2 separate regions of the Homo sapiens genome follow, and region 2 is linked to region 1. The links are contacts of gene promoters, found by promoter capture Hi-C in human tissues and cell types (Jung and others, 2019). All regions are on one chromosome and are shown on one strand. Each heading gives the region's core, a stretch centred on a gene start or on the middle of the fragment in contact. The rest is flanking DNA. Distances are from core to core; before and after follow the strand shown.

The links. Contacts are between HindIII fragments. The study calls those that stand out against the background at their distance.
Region 2: the fragment with the promoter of PPP1R15B here is called in contact with the fragment with the promoter of CYB5R1 in region 1 in 1 of the 25 tissues and cell types used here (thymus).

The regions. Positions count from the first base shown.
Region 1 is chr1:202,963,687-202,971,420 of GRCh38, forward strand. It overlaps CYB5R1 (cytochrome b5 reductase 1), which reads right to left and starts at 3,571. Exons shown (of 9, transcript NM_016243.3): 1 at 3,505-3,571; 2 at 3,063-3,212; 3 at 2,842-2,914; 4 at 2,201-2,307; 5 at 1,685-1,814; 6 at 926-1,009; 7 at 1-41. The coding sequence starts at 3,519. RefSeq lists silencers at 3,479-3,528, 3,599-3,758, 4,375-4,669. The HindIII fragment of the contact is 6,951 bases long and covers 1-5,429 here.
Region 2 is chr1:204,407,820-204,415,553 of GRCh38, forward strand. It overlaps PPP1R15B (protein phosphatase 1 regulatory subunit 15B), which reads right to left and starts at 3,998. Exons shown (of 2, transcript NM_032833.5): 1 at 1,673-3,998. The coding sequence starts at 3,592. RefSeq lists enhancers at 2,975-3,809, 3,116-3,265, 3,526-4,225, 4,236-4,285 and a silencer at 3,744-4,190. The HindIII fragment of the contact is 8,124 bases long and covers 1-6,858 here.

The DNA.
Region 1 (7,734 bases), core at 2,321-4,820:
TTTCAGGATGGCCCGGATCAGCTGTAGCATTGGGGTGATTCCTGCATGAAGATACCCCACAGTGAAATGTAGTGGCCACACTCTCTGCCCTGTCCTGGCTCCTTAGCTGACCAGCCCTTTCATCTTCATTCTGCTCATTCACCACTCCACTCCATTTTCCTTTAGCATTCTCATCCTCTAAACTCTTCCTGCATATTCTCCAACATCTGTATTTCCGGGCACCCTTCAAATTCATCTAAGTTCATATTGTAGAAATCTTTCTTAGGAACTAATCTAAGACTCTTCTGAAAGTCCTTTGGAGGCTAGGACTCCAGTGTCACAAATGACTACAAGTACCTCCGGATTCAATGATGAGGGTTCTAGAACACTGTATTTGCAGAGGTTAAGTGCATGTACTTAGGCACTAGGCAGAGCCAAATACTAATTTTGCTCCAGGCCATTACCAGTGAAATAACCCTGTGGAAATCATTTAGCCTCTCTGGAACCCCATTGTCTCTCTGTAAAAGGAAAAGGCTAGTACCTACTTCATAGATACCTATATATGTGTCTAATTTTTGTGTCTAATATATAGTAGTGTATTAGACTACACAGTGTCTAATGCACAGTAGTGTCCAATGCTAATTTTCTTTCTTCCTAGCTAGTCATTCCTAGCTGCTTCTCTCTTCTCTCACCTAAAACTATTAGATCCATTCAAAATGAGGAAAGCTCATTTAATTTGTTTCTCTAATTCCATCAGTTAAAATTTTTTTTGGTTTCTACCTGCTTATGATTTTGTTTTTCAGATACTAGGGAGTTCTAAGCATTGCTGGAAATCCCCTGATGAACAACAGCTTGGCTATGGTTACCAGTCTTCAGAGGGTCACCTAGGAATTTGCATGGCAACAGTCAACAATGGTGGGAGAGAAAGGCCCTCAGTGTAATGCACCTGTCCCGCCGGCAATCATTCCCAGTTTCTTCGCCACTCGGGGTTCTGGTGGAGATTTCTTGTTGGGCTGAATGTTAAAATGCCCTGAGAGGTCAGGTGAAGAGAGCAGTGGAAGAATAAAGTCAATACAGCGAACTTAGAAAACAAATGCAGAGTTGAAAATATGCCTGAGGCCAGTTGAGCAGCTGCTATGACATCTGATCCTGGAGCTTGGGTGGAAGCTTGAGTTGAGCCAGCCCTGACAATAATATAGTTGAGGGACAATGGGGCCAGGGCTATCTGTGAGTCAGTTCAGCGCCACACAATGTATCAGCTGCTTCTGGCAAAGTGTCACTCCCTGGTGAAGGAGACAGGCACAGAGCCAGGTGTGAATCTATTTTCCCAAGTGGCACACAGCAGCTCCAGGGACTTGCTAATGCACCCAGCTGTTCCCATGGGAAGGGCTGAAAGCTATCTCTGGCTCACTCCACAGCTCACCCAGGGGGGCAAATTTTTGAAGGTGGGGAAGAGGGGCACATGTTTGCTTTAGTAATCTCCACAGCTGCCATGGCTAGGGAATTCAAGTGGAGGAGGAACTGCTTCCTGTGGCAAATGGGGCTGAGAAACATGCCTTTCTATTGTATCAGCGCTATGTTTAGAAGGAAGGGCGGCCCTGGCCCTTACGTGCATACACATGTGTACACACAGCCATACTGTGCCAAGAGGACTATGGGAACTGATAAAGTGGGAGACAGGCTCAAGGAGAAGACAGGTCATTACCTTTTCCAGTGTAAGTGAGCAACCCGCTTGGCCCCCGAAACTCCACCACATCCCCAACCTTCAGGCTATCCAGGTACTGAGACATCTTCCCTCCCTCAGGAAATTTGGGGTGCACACCCTTCAGGTAGACCTTACAAGACAGAGAGAAAAATACCTTATTTGGAATGTCACTGGTTTCTGAGCCCCATGTTGACTAAACCTCCCTGAGGCTGGGGCAGGGATCAGATATGTGCTATCTTTTCCCCGTCTACATACTTTCTTTCTTTCTTTTTTTTTTTTGAGTCAGAGTTTTGCTCTTGCTGCCCAGGCTTGAGTGCAGTGGCGCAATCTTGGCTCACTGCAACCTCCGCCTCCTGGGTTCAAGTGAGTCTCCTGCCTCAGTCTCCTGAGTAGCTCATACTTTCTTCACATCCACAGAGTACATACCATTTCCTGCTGTCAGGCAAATCTTAGAAATTTCTACAAATCCCAGAAAGAATGGGTAAGCAGCCCCTGGGTCCCTTCCTAGCCCCTTACCTTGATGACAAGATCCACATAGCCTTGATCCTCATCACTGGTGACAGGAGTGTATGGCCTGATGACCAGGCTGCCATCAATTCGGGTGGAGAGGTAGATATGTTTGCCTGGGGACCGTGCAGAGAGCTACATAAGGGTTGTCTGTGATGTGCTGCATCCCTCAAAATACTCAAAGAGATTTGAGAGAACAAGATGTCTTGCTTCCTGCTGTGGTCCCAAGGAGCTACAAGGCAGGGAAGATTTGCCCCATTGAGCCCTCAGTTGGATCTCTTATAAGCGCCCAGTTGAGGAAACACTTATTTCCAGCGTTTCCTGCCAGTTACTGCCAGGACCTTGACAGATGAGCCAAAAGGGTCTGGGCAATGGGAAAAAGTTAGTAGTGCTTGCTCAGAGGGAGTAATTAGCAAATCCTGCAGGGAAGAGGCAAGACTGTTGAGTGTTAAAGCTGGATGGGGGTCATGGAAGCCACACTCTAGAGGGGCCCAGTGGCACCTCACAGCTTGGAGGATGCAGAGCCAAGTGGGGGAAGGGGAATGGTGTGTGGAGCAAACCGGTTGAAGCAGCGTGTTTCATGAGATCCCAGGAGGGGAGTCACCTTCTGAGGATACCAGGGAAAGGAGCCCATTCCACACTTTCCTTACCCACAGGCAGCCCCAGAGTGTGGTGGGCGGTGGGCAGGGCAAAGCGGAACCTCTTGGTGTTGTGGCTCACAGTCTGGAGGGTGGAGGACACAAGTGTTTCACCAAGCGCGCCTGGCGCTGCCACGTCCCTTGGACATCCCAACCACCGTGGGTGCTGTACCCTCCATGCCAGGAGCACTCTGGTCCCCTCCTTCACCCTGGCCCTTTCTTCCCCAACTTACCGTCTTGTCTAGCAGTCGTAGCAGGTACTTTTCATTGGGGTCCAGGAGAGTGACCTGAGGCCGGCGGGACCTCCGAACCAAGTAGGAGCCCACAGCCAGGCCGAGCAGAGTGACCAGCCCCACCCCCAGGGAGGCCAGCAGGACGGGGCTCTGTGGGTAGAGGAGGCAGCGTGACCGCCAGGCTGGGTAAGAGCCCGGGGCTTGGGTGGTGACCGTCCCAGGGGTGGCGATCCCGAGCTCCAGCGCGGAGGCATGCCAAGGGCAGAGGGGTAACCTGGCGGAGTCCCGAGCCCGGATGTGCGGGATCGGGACCCCAGCATCCACGGTGGGCCCAGAGCCCTGCGGGGCGGGGTCGGCAGCGACAGCCCCTGGTCCGGAGCTGAGTGGCCAGAACCAGATGGGGAGGGGTCCCCCAGTGGAGGATACTGAATGAGGGTCTTACCGTCTGGATCCCCATGACGGAGCGCCTTTTCCTCCACCACCTGACAAGCCGACAGATCCCACAATGCGCCGCGGGGCGGGTCGGAGGGCGGGGCAGGCCGGGGGCGGGGCCGGGCAGGAGGCAGGACCTCGCGGCTGGGGGGGCAGGAGGCGGGGCCTGGCGGGGGGGGGGGGGGGTGTCTGTCGGGGGCGGGGCCTAGCAGGAGGTGGCGGCGGCGGGGCCTTTTGGGGGCGGGGTCCGGCAGAGGCGGGGCTGGGCCCCTCTGCGCGCCACCCTTTCCCTCCGCTACTCGGTGGCTCAGGGTCTCCGGTGCTTATTCAATACTTTTTTTTTTTTTTTTGAGTCGGAGCCTCGCTCTGTCGCCCAGGCTGGAGTGCAGTGGCGCGATCTCGGTTACTGCAACCTCCGCCTCCCAGTTTCAAGTGGTTCTCCTGGCTCCGCCTCCCGAGTATCTGGGACTACTGGCGTGCGCCACCACGCCCGGCTAATTTTTTTTTTGTATTTTTAGTACAGACTGGGTTTCACCGTGTTGGTCAGGGTGGTCTCGAGCTCCAGGGCTCAAATAATCTACCCGCTTCGGCCTCCCAACGTGTTGGGATTACAGGCGTGAGCCATCGCGCCCGGCCCCAAGATCTTTTAAGACCGCAGCTCCAGCCTCTCCTCCCAGCGAGGTGGTCCCTGCCACTTCGACCCGCTTATATCCGAACTGGATGGGAGTTCTGCCTAAGGTAGAACCACGCTAAATTGGGGGATTGGAAATCTCTTGAGTCTGCGGGTGCTGAGCGGAGAGTGTAACGATGAACCAGAGACAGGCTCAAAGTAGAGCAGAAGGGCCTGAAGTTAATCATTGTGCAGTCACCTTAGTTTTTCAACCGGCTGAATTGCAGCAAGAGAATGGAACAGCCCAGAGGAGTCTCTTACAGGAGTGAACAGTGGCATGGCAACTTCATTTCCTTTTGACAAAAGACTGATTTTGTTTACAGCGCCAAGCCGTCAGCCTATCAGGATGATTCAGGAGCTTCCTTTGGTTTCAAAGACCAAGCTTCACATCCTGATTTGGGTTCTTGTGCCCTTAGGGTCAAAGAAGTGGGCTTTGGAGGCAGAGTGTACAGAATAAGAATCTTGCCTCTAGCACTTATTGGCTCTGTGACCTTAGATAGCTTACTCAACCTGAGTTTCTTCATCTACAGATGGATATAAGATGGATATCTACAGATGGATATATATTATTATCTACAGATAGATTGTATCTAGTTCATAGCTTTGGTGTGAGGCTTCAGTGAGATATGTTAACGTGCTTAGTGTAGTGCCTGTCATAAAGCAAAATATTCAACAGTTGGCAGCTACTATTATAACTTAAAAGACAGCACAGAGGGTCAGCTATGGTTTTAGGAATGAGCTCTGCCTGGGGCACAAGCATGGGACAGGAGGAGGCAGGAAAAAACATCAGGAGCCGCTGGAGCTACAGATTTCCCAAGATGACCATTCTTTCTCATACATGAGTTTCTCAACTAGAATGACATTTGCTCTTTGATATACCGTGATGGATGAGATCTCTGCAGATGTCAGTGTCAACATCTTAAACTAATACCATCAGGGCAGCAGGGACATTAGAGCCCCCAGTTTTCAGTTGTATTTGGTGAACTCTGTGAATGATCCAAGAGATACTTAGTTTTCCTTTTCCTCTCCACTGGCTGAAAATGTTCCTAAGACCCCAGTACATGTTCCTCTGAATTTTTTAAGCAGCCTGCACACTGACTTGAGGGAAGTGAGTGCACCAGATCATGGTGACATGCCAATCCATGCAGAGAGGGTTGAAAAGGGGAAGGAAGGGACCCTTCCTCTTTTCTGTTCCGAGAGAATGAGGCGATTATGTTCCGGTGCTTCTGACATCCCCACTGCTGGCTTGGTTAAGAAGCCACACTACTGATCCTTGCCACTGCTCCACTCTGGCTAAAGAGGTTCTAGGCCTTCCTCCCTCTAGTGGATAGATGTGGCAAGAGAGGGGGAAGTATGGAACGAAAGGAGAGCATAACTACAACTCGGGCTTCTCTCAGTGATTGCATTTTCTGAACCCCAAAGTGGCACATTCTAACAAGTGTGAGTGTATCACTGGGAACCACAGGACAGAATGGTTGGGTGTGGGCTTATCCTGGAAACTAAGTGTTGGACTCAGTAATTGTGGGAAGGCTCTTTTGCTCCTGAAAATGAATGCTGCAGGAGTGGTGGGAAGGGGCTGATGGCCTGGCAGGTCTTCCTGTCTCAGATTCTGTGGTGAATTGAACTCCACTCCACCACGACTCATGGTAATCTTACATTACTCCTAGTTTGGAGGAAAAGATAGGCATTTCTGAATTTTTATTTAACCCAATCTTTTAAGTTTAGGATTTCCTCCTGGGTATACAATAAAGAATAGAACAGGCTGGGTTCACGCCTGTAATCCCATCACTTTGGGAGGCTGGATGGATCACTTGAGCCCAGGAGTTTGAGACCAGCCTGGGCAACATGGCAAAATCCTGTCTTTACAAAAATACAAAAATTAGCCAAGTGCGATGGCGCTGGCCTGTAGTCCTAGATACTAAGGAGGCTGAGGTGGGGGTATTGCTTGAGCCTGGGAGATCAACGCTGCAGTGAGCCATGATTGCGCCACTGCACTCCAGCCTGGGCAATAGAGCAAGACCCTGTTTAAAAAAATATATATATATAATGTAGTGTGAGGGGGAAGTAGAATTTCAAACCTGTGTTTTATAATTCTGAATTAGGATGTAAAACTCAGTGGCCCTTTTTAGATAAGATATCCAGAAAGAAGCTTGGAGGAAGACTTGCTCATACTGAGGAGATGGCATGGAGGAATCAGACCAGGAGATGTAATAATGACAAAAAAATTAACATTTATTGAGCATGTGCAATATAGCAAGAACTAGGTAAATTGCTTTTCACGTATTCTGACAACATCCATTTAATCCTGACAACAACTGTGAGATAGATATTATCATTAGTAGTCTCATTTTATGGAGTGGGGGGAAACTGAAGTTTAGGACAAGTAAGTCACTTGCCCAAGATCACCTACTAAATGGCAAACTCAGACTGCATACCAGGCAGCTTGATGTTGAAAACTAACAACCTCACACCCTTTTTGAACTTTTCTTTTTTTTTTGAGACGGAGTCTTGCTCTGTCACCCAGGCTGGAGTGCAGTGGCGCAATCTCGACTCACTGCAACCTCTGCCTCCCAGGTTCAAGTGATTCTTCTGCCTCAGCCTCCTGAGTAGCTGGGATTACAGGCATGCGCCACCATCCCCGGCTAATTTTTGTACTTTTAGTAGAGACGAGGTTTCACCATGTTGGCCAGGCTGGTCTCAAACTCCTAACTTCGTGATCCGCCTGCCTCAGCCTCCCAAAGTGCTGGGATTACAGGCGTAAGCCACCGTGCCTGGCTGAACTTTTTAGTATGGAAACTATCAAACATATACAAAAGTAGACAGAACAGTATAATAAAGCCCGACGTACCCATCACCCTCTTCAACAATTATTAAATCATGGTCACCTTTCTTTCATTTCTTCCCCAGTCCGTTCCTTCCTCCAGTATTATTTTTAAGCAAATCCCATATTTTTTATAACTTTGTCCTTAAATATTTTAGTGTGTATCTTTAAAAGCTAAGGACTTAAAAATAACCATAATACCATTATCACATGTAAAAATAATTAACAACAATTACTTAGTTTCATCAGATAGCTAGTCAGTGTTCAAAGTTCCACCTGTCTCTTTTTTTTTTTTTTTTTTTTGAGATGGAGTCTCACTCTGTCGCCTAGGCTGGAGTGCAGTGGCATGATCTTGGCTCACTACCAGCTCCACCTCCCAGGTTCACGCCATTCTCCTGCCTCAGCCTCCCGAGTAGCTGGGACTACAGGCGCCCGCCACCACGCCTGGCTAATTTTTTGTATTTTTAGTAGAGACGGGGTTTCACTGTGTTAGCCAGGATAGTCTCAATCTCCTGACCTTGTGATCCATCCTCCTCGGCCTCCCAAAGTGCTGGGATTACAGGGATGAGCCGCCGTGCCCGGCCTTTTTTTTTTTTTTTTTTTTTTGAGATGGAGTCTCACTCTGTCACCCAGGCTGGAGTGCAGTGGCACGATCTCGGCTCACTGCAACCTCTGCCTCCCGGGTTCAAGAGATTCTCCTGCCTCAGCCTCCTGAGTAGCTGGGATTATAGGCGACTTCCACAGCGCCC
Region 2 (7,734 bases), core at 2,748-5,247, 1.4 Mb after region 1:
CATCATCCTATATACTCCATATATTCCATACACCATTCCCCATATATACCAATGGCAGGTAGTCAAAGGCTGTCAAATAATTATATCATATTCAGACATAATCATTTATAAATTCTGCTTCTAGTTCATAGTCAATAGTATCATCTACTCCACTCATTTCATTTTACTCAACGAGCAAGCTAAAACAAGACATGAGACTGGCCTGAGGTCTCTCAATAAGAGCTAGCATTTAAAGGCAAGGCAATAAATTCTGAGTTTTATTTACTTGTCTCATTTAAATCTTGCAATAACTTGTACAATAGATATTATTATTTTACCCATCAAGTAAGAGTGAATTGAGGCCATGAGAGTCAAGCAACTTCCCAGGTCTGGCTGCCTTCCAAATCTCTGCGCCTTAACCACTGAGGAGTAGAGAACACAGGGCTCCAGCTGCCAAGTGCTCATTCCATTGCCCCACTTTGTTTCTTACCTATTCATTCTAAATAGGTCATTTTGTCAGGGGCCCCTTAAAAGGACAAAGAGAGATGGCATTTACAAAGTGTGAACTAAAATTTAATCTTTAACATGACTTATTCTGCCCTAAAGGTAAGACGTAAGATTATCACCATTTTGAGACATTTTCTACCCAGGAATAATTTCAAAGTAGTAAGCTGGCCATGTGGAGCCAAGAGATTATGGTACTGTCCATTTGAAACGCCCCAGTGAGGCAGAATCTGAGGTCAATAATAACTCACCCACTAACTTCTCTCTCCAAGTAACGGTATAGAAAACTAAAAAAACGTTCCCTCTACAATAATAGACACCTTTGAGTTTGGAGAAGAGTTCAATTAATAACTTTAGTTGAATCAACTATAAAGAAAAACAAACCAACTCTAAAGACTCCCAAAATAAGGTTAACCTGACAATGTAATTAAAGCGTAAAATGCTGCATGAAGTTTTAAGACTAGCCTGGGAAAAGGAAGCAACTAGTCAAGATAAACCAAGTAAGTGGCCATCACTGTTTATTATTAATATTAACCTGTAGCTGACCACTGATAACTAGCATTGCATTCCTAAGAAAAGGCAATACCACTTCCTGTACTGGCTTTGACTTTCAATTAAAACCATGTAATGTCAAAACCAGTGAAATTACTATTTAATTTCATGGCCAATTGGACCAGATAAATCTGACTTGCTACTTGATATCATCATCCCTTTGGGTTGTAATGGACAGGAATGAAGACACTCTTGTTATATGCAAAAAAAATATTAAGTATTTGCAGACAACATACATTTAAAATCATTTTAAAACTCTATGGCTGTAACAGGACCTTTTCAATCTCTAGAAAAATTAAATCGTGTACACACAAAGTTTAATAGTCCGTTAAAAAGTGTGAAAAATTGAAGCTTGTAAGGAAACAGTCCAGAACTACCAACCCAAATAAAAATGGCACTTTCCTGCTAACATCTACACACTGGTATGTTCGTTTTGGACAGCAACAATGTGCATTGGGGTGGGGGGTGAGGGACAGGAGGAGAAGGGTCATTTACATATTTCTCAATCCAAGTATATGAATTTAGAGGCCTTCCTCAAAAATACATGCACTCCTAAGCCTCCAAAGTCATGCTGCTATATTTAAGCATATAAAAACAGTCAGAACATATCAGGCATGTTAAAAGACAAGAAACAAACCTTTTTTCTTTTGACATGTGTGTGTCTTCCTCCAGAAAGAACGTCACGCTGTACCGAGTCTGGACATTCACTTTCTTGGCTCCCCAACAGCTGCACCTTACAAGAAAGTAAGGTGTGACACTCAGAAATGGCCACAATGGACTCAGATGGGGTCTTTGAGTCACGACAGCCTTTCTCATTTTCCCCTGATGTTTGAAAAGGAGCCTTAAAATTTAAAGGGTTGTAGGGGTCATCAGAATTACAGAATGAGTTCCACAGTTTGAGACTCTCTGCTTCATCTGCACTAGATTCCCAGTCATCTTCCTCCCCAGAACTATGCTCAGGGGTCTCAGGAAGGCTTCCAGACTGGGAGGAATTCTCTAGATCAGACTTGCCAGACAAATCCTTCTCTGAATCAGAAGGCTCTTCAGGAACAATTCTGGCAGCAGTCTGAATTGTTGCTGTAAAGTTCTGGGGATTATAAGGATCTACACTGCAGAAAGAGTTCCAAAGGTGAAGCCCTTCAGGGTCTTGTTCAAGGTCTGAGTCTGACAGTGAGCTATCACTATCAAAACCATCATCCTCAGCTTCCTCATCCCAATCCTCACCTTCTGGATCAGAACTTGTTTCCAGGTCACTGGATGCACCTCCCAAAATATAATCTATCAGTTTGTTACTACAAGCTGGTCTGGCAGAAATGGGAAGGTCACCTTCTAGGTATGAGTAATCAACTACACTTATTCGGCCCTCTCCAGGCTCCTTTTCCATAGGTATCTCACTAGATGGACAGCCCTCAGAAGGGCTCTCTTCTTCCAAAGCAAGTGGAACCTCTGTAGTTAATAATTCTATTTTTTCTTCAGTGGATTCCTGGGTGTTTCCAGGAATGTCTCCAGCAGCAGGAACAAACTGTGTTGGGTTATCTCTGCAGTGTTTTGGATCCATCCGGAGAAGGCTGTGTTCCTCCTCCAGGCTGTGGTAGCCATTATCCTGGTCAGGGGTGGGTAAATCTTGCCCCTTGCTAGCCTGTTGAAGGAATTCCAGCCGTTTCATGCGAAGATGGTGAATTTCTGGTAGGCCTTCCGTAGAAAGAGGTGGACATCCCTGCCACGAGGCCGGAATGAGTTCTGCACTCAGCGGCTGGGGATGACAATGGTCCTCTCTCAGGCAGCTGCTCTCTGGGGTTAGTGTCTGGAAGCCGACTACCTCGCTATTTCCATCACTGTTCTGATAGCTGACTTCTAGCCTAGGAAAGCAGTCCAGGTAGGAAGGGTTCAGCAAATAGGATACCACACTGAAATTGTCTATGCGTTGAATGTTTAGAGGCCCAGAGGGCGAAGAGCCAAGTTCCCGGTTAGAGTACAGACGGGATTGAAGGCTACTGGGCAACAGCTCCACTCCCCACAGCTGCTGCTCTAAGAGAAAAGCCTGTGCTGCAGGGTCCAAAGCACTTCCCTTGGCCTTAAGCTCCAATTTTAGGTCTGGGGGCGAGTATTGCCAGTGGATCCCCTCCTCTAGCCAATCAAGGGGACTGGTGACCGAGGGGTCTGAGGAGTCGAGCTGCAGCGAACTCAAAGATTTCTGCGCTGTGGGGGCGGCTGGTTTCTCCCGTCCCTTCAGGGCTCTCAGGGCGCTGTAGACTCCAGCAAAATCTAGCCATCTGGTCGGAAACATTCCACCGAAAAGTTGGCTCCAAATTAGCACCTTCTGAAGCAATCCGGGGAGCGGCGCAAGGAGCTGGGAGAGCAGTTTCGTCCAGTAACTGACCCGAGTCTCGGGCTGGGCAGAGGAAAGCAGTGTGGGGTTCCCGGAGTTTTCCGGGCCAAGAGGCGTCGGGAACTTAGAAGAGCCTGCTTGCGATCGCCGAGGGAAAAAGGGTGGCCAGAACCGGAAGCCCGCCCGAGGGCCAAGCCGTTTCCGCGATCCGCCTGTCCCCGGCTCCATCTCCTTTTTCTTGACAGTCTCTCAGGTAGGGCCGCGGCGCTCAGCGGCTGGAGGTCGACGGGATTCGGAGGAAGCCTACAGAGTCTCGGCCTTGCCCAGCGGTGGCGTCGCTGCTCCAGGCCGATCTTCGAGCCAGCAGAAAAGCCACAGAGGGCAGCGAATGCGGCAGCGGGCGGCAGAACACAGGGAAGAACAGCCCGCGCAATAGGCGGCGACTGATGCGACTTCCATCCTGGCGGGGAAGGAGGTTCCCTAGTCGGCTCGACGCTTCAACACCATGGATAGGAGTCCCCCCACGGCCTCGGCGATGGTTTTCCGACTGACAGAGGGTTGAAAAGCCCCTGAGCAACGCGATACCGGAAGGACTGGGTAGGCCGGCTGGTGCGGTGGAAGCGAAGCCCAAAATGGCCGCAGGGCCCGCGCGCCGGCAGGACACCCCCCTAGACGCCGGAAGAGACGCAGGACTGTTGGGCGTCTACGTCCCTAGCGCCGCGCCGCCCAACGTCACTCGCAAAATCCCCGGGGGGCGGGCCTTTCCGCCCACTTCCGTGTGGCCGCCGATTGGTTTTGCCAGATTTCCCTGTCGGCTTCCTTACTCGAGGTAGAGCCGCACGGCAGCGTGAGGTTGCATCAGCCGGGGCGGGGGGGGGGGGGGGGGGGGGGGGGGGAATGCACGCATGCGCAGTCGTTTCTGTGTGGTCTCCTAGGAGACCGCCCCAACAGCCCTCTAGGTTAAAGGTCTTGGGGAGGGGAGGGGTTTTCAAAATAACCCGAGAATTTCCCGGAGGCGTTTTGATGGCCTAATACACACTGACGTGTGTACAGTCATCCCCTCTCATGAAATGGGGATTAGTTCCAGGACCCCGTAGACACCAGAATCCGCAGACGGTCAAGTCCCTTATGTAAAATGGTATAGTGTTTGCATATAACCTGCATACACCTTCCCAGATATTTAAACCATCCCCTAGATTAAGTATAATACCTAATACAATGCAAGTGCTATGGAACTAGTTGTTATACTGTATTTATTTGTATTATGTTTTATTATCTTTATTTTTCCCGAATATTTTCAATCCATGGAAGGTTGAATGCCCCGCGGGCCAACTGTAGGGTTATCGTAGTCTTAGATTTTTATTATTTATTTATTTGAGACAGGGTCTAGCTCTGTCGCCCAGGCTGGAGTGCAGTAGTGCGATCTCGGCTCACTGCAGCCTCAACCTCCTGGGCTCCAGTGAGCCTCCCACCTCAGCCTCCCGAGGAGCTGGGACTACAGGCTCGCACCACCACGCCCAGCTAAATTTTTTTTTTTTTTGAGACGGATTCCCACTCTGTCGCCAGGCTGGAGTGCAGTGGCGCAATCTCGGCTCACTGCAACCTCCGCCTCCCGGGTTCAAGCGATTCTCCTGCCCCAGCCTCCCTAGTAGCTGGTACTACAGGCGTGTGCCACCACGCCCAGTTAATTTTTTGTATTTTTAGTAGAGACAGGGTTTCACCATGTTGGCTAGGATGGTCTCGATCTCCTGACCTTGTGATCCGCCCGCCTCAGCCTCCCAAAGTGCTGGGATTACAGGCGTGAGCCACCGTGCTCGGCCAATTTTTGCATATTTTTATAGAGACAGGGTTTCGTCGTGTTGCCCAGGTTGGTTTCAAACTCAGCTCAAGTGATCTGCCCGCCTCGGCCTCCTAAAGTGCTGGGGTTACAGGCGTGAGCCACTGCGCCCAGCCTGACAGATATTTCAGGGTTCTCCTATTGTTCAGTACTATGTAGACCATCAACCTGAGATCTTATGTAAAAGTTGGGCAGTGCTGCGTACATACATGTCTGGTGTGGGGCAAACTAAACTCACAGAGAAGCAGCTCAGTCCCCAGAACTATTTACTCTCTTTTATGCTTCCAAGCAGGCAACATATTCAATTCATATTTATTAATACTTCCTTAGCAACCAGAACCACAGAATACAACAGCCAAAAAGGAAACATGGACCACTATCCTTTGAAAAAAAAAATGGCTGGTAATTTTAATTGCTGTATTTGATTATCTCTTGTGAGTTTGGTCTTAGTTCATTTCTTTATTTCTGCTAAAACTCTGTAATAGATACCCCTGAAGTCAAGTACCAATTACAGAGGGAGGGTGGCAGTTATGAGCACTAGGGACAGCAGAAAAATCTTTAGGGAGCTGGGAGGAGACCAGCAGCTCCTCCTGCCTTACTGGGCCTGTTCAAGGAACAACCACTTCTTTTTTTCTTTTTTGAGACGAGTCTCGCTCTGTTGCCCAGGATATAGTGCAGTGGTGTGATCTCTGCTCACTGCAACCTCCGCCTTCCTGGGTTCAAACTATTATCCTGCCTCAGCCTCCCTAGTAGCTAGGACTACAGGCACATGCCACCACGCCCGGCTAATTTTTGTATTTTTAGTAGAGACGGAGTTTCACCATGTTAGCCAGGATGGTCTCAATTTCCTGACCTTGTGATCTGCCCGCCTCAGCCTCCCAAAGTGCTGGGATTACAGGCGTGAGCCACCACGTTCGGCACAACCACTTCTTTCTAGGAAGCCAAGAGGACCTCAGTTTCTGTTGTTTATCCTGTATTATTATCCATACCTCTGGAAAATCTCAATCCTATGAACTTCAGAAAAATGTATTAATAATAGAGGTCAGTTTCATAATACAGATCCAAGTAGGCAAATTTGTTACCAGAAGCCTGTTTCTTGTAAAGTGAGGCTAGTAATTCCTCTTTCAATGGATTGGTAAGAAAACTAAGTTTTCTCAGTGCCTAGCCTAGACAGAGTAGGAGCACAAAGATTAGCTAATATTCTTGTGTGGTTCTGCTTTACAGTCTTCAGTTGTTTCCTCATTGCCTGCAGAATAAAGGCTCTATGCAGCCTGCCCTCCCACTGTACTCTTCCAGCCTCCTCTGTCACTTGTCTTCATGCATGTTATATTCTAGGAACATTGGACTTACCTGTACTCCTTGCTTCCTGCCTTTACTCATGCTGTTTCTCAGCCAAGAAAAGCTTCACCTTTCCTGTTACATACCTACTCATCCTTCAAGATCCAATTCAAATGTCAGCTTCTCCTTGAAGCCTTCATTGACCTTTCCAGCCAGAATTAATGGATCCCTCACAGTACTTATATTATTCCGCTCTATTAGAGCACTTAACACATTGCATTACATATACCTGTAAGTATTCTCTCTTGCTGGTCCCTGAATTCCTTGAGGGCTGTATCCAACTATCTAGAAAAGTGGTTCCCAAAGTATGGTCTGGGCACCCCTGGGGATCCTCCTTTGAAACCCTTTCAGAGGGTCCTTAAGGCCAAAAATATTTCCATAATAATTCTCAGCTTTTTTAACTCTCATTTTCTCATGTATGTACAGTGAAGTCTTCTGGAAGATACATGGTGTGTGAACTGTCAACAGAATGAATGCAAAAGCAGATAGATACGAGATTCTAGCTGTTTTATATTAAGCCAGATACTAAAGACATTTGGAAAAAATGTAAGACAATGCCACTTTTCTCACTAAGCTTTTTATGTTTTGAAAAATAATTGAACATTACCAGCCTGGGCAACATGGCAAAACCCTGTCTCTACAAAACATACAAAAATTAGCCAGGCATGACGGTGCACGCCTGTGGTCCCAGCTACTCAGGAGGCTGAGGTGGGAGGATTGCTCAAGCCTGGGAGGCAGAGGTTGCAGTGAGCCAAGATTGTGCCACTGCACTCCATCCTGGGCAACAGAGTGAGATCCTGCCTCAAAAAAAAAAAAAAAATTAACATGTAATTGGTTATTTTTAAATGAATTTTAAAATTTTATTGTATTTTTCATTAAAGACAGAGTTTCATATGTTGCCCAGGCTGGAGTGCAGTGCGTATTCACAGGGGCAATCACAGCACACTATGGCCTTGAACTCCTGGGCTCAAGCAATCCTCCTGCTTCAGCCTCCCAAGTAGCTGGAACGACAGGTGCACACCACCACACCCAGCCTAAATGAACATTTTTCAGTTCCTCGGTCTTGAATTCATAAATAGGAAATATTGATAGCTATAAACCACATAAAGGTATAAAGATAGTTATTTGGGGTCCTTAGTAATTTTTTTTTGAGACAGGATCTTGCTGTATTGCCCAGGCTGGAGTGCAGTGGTGC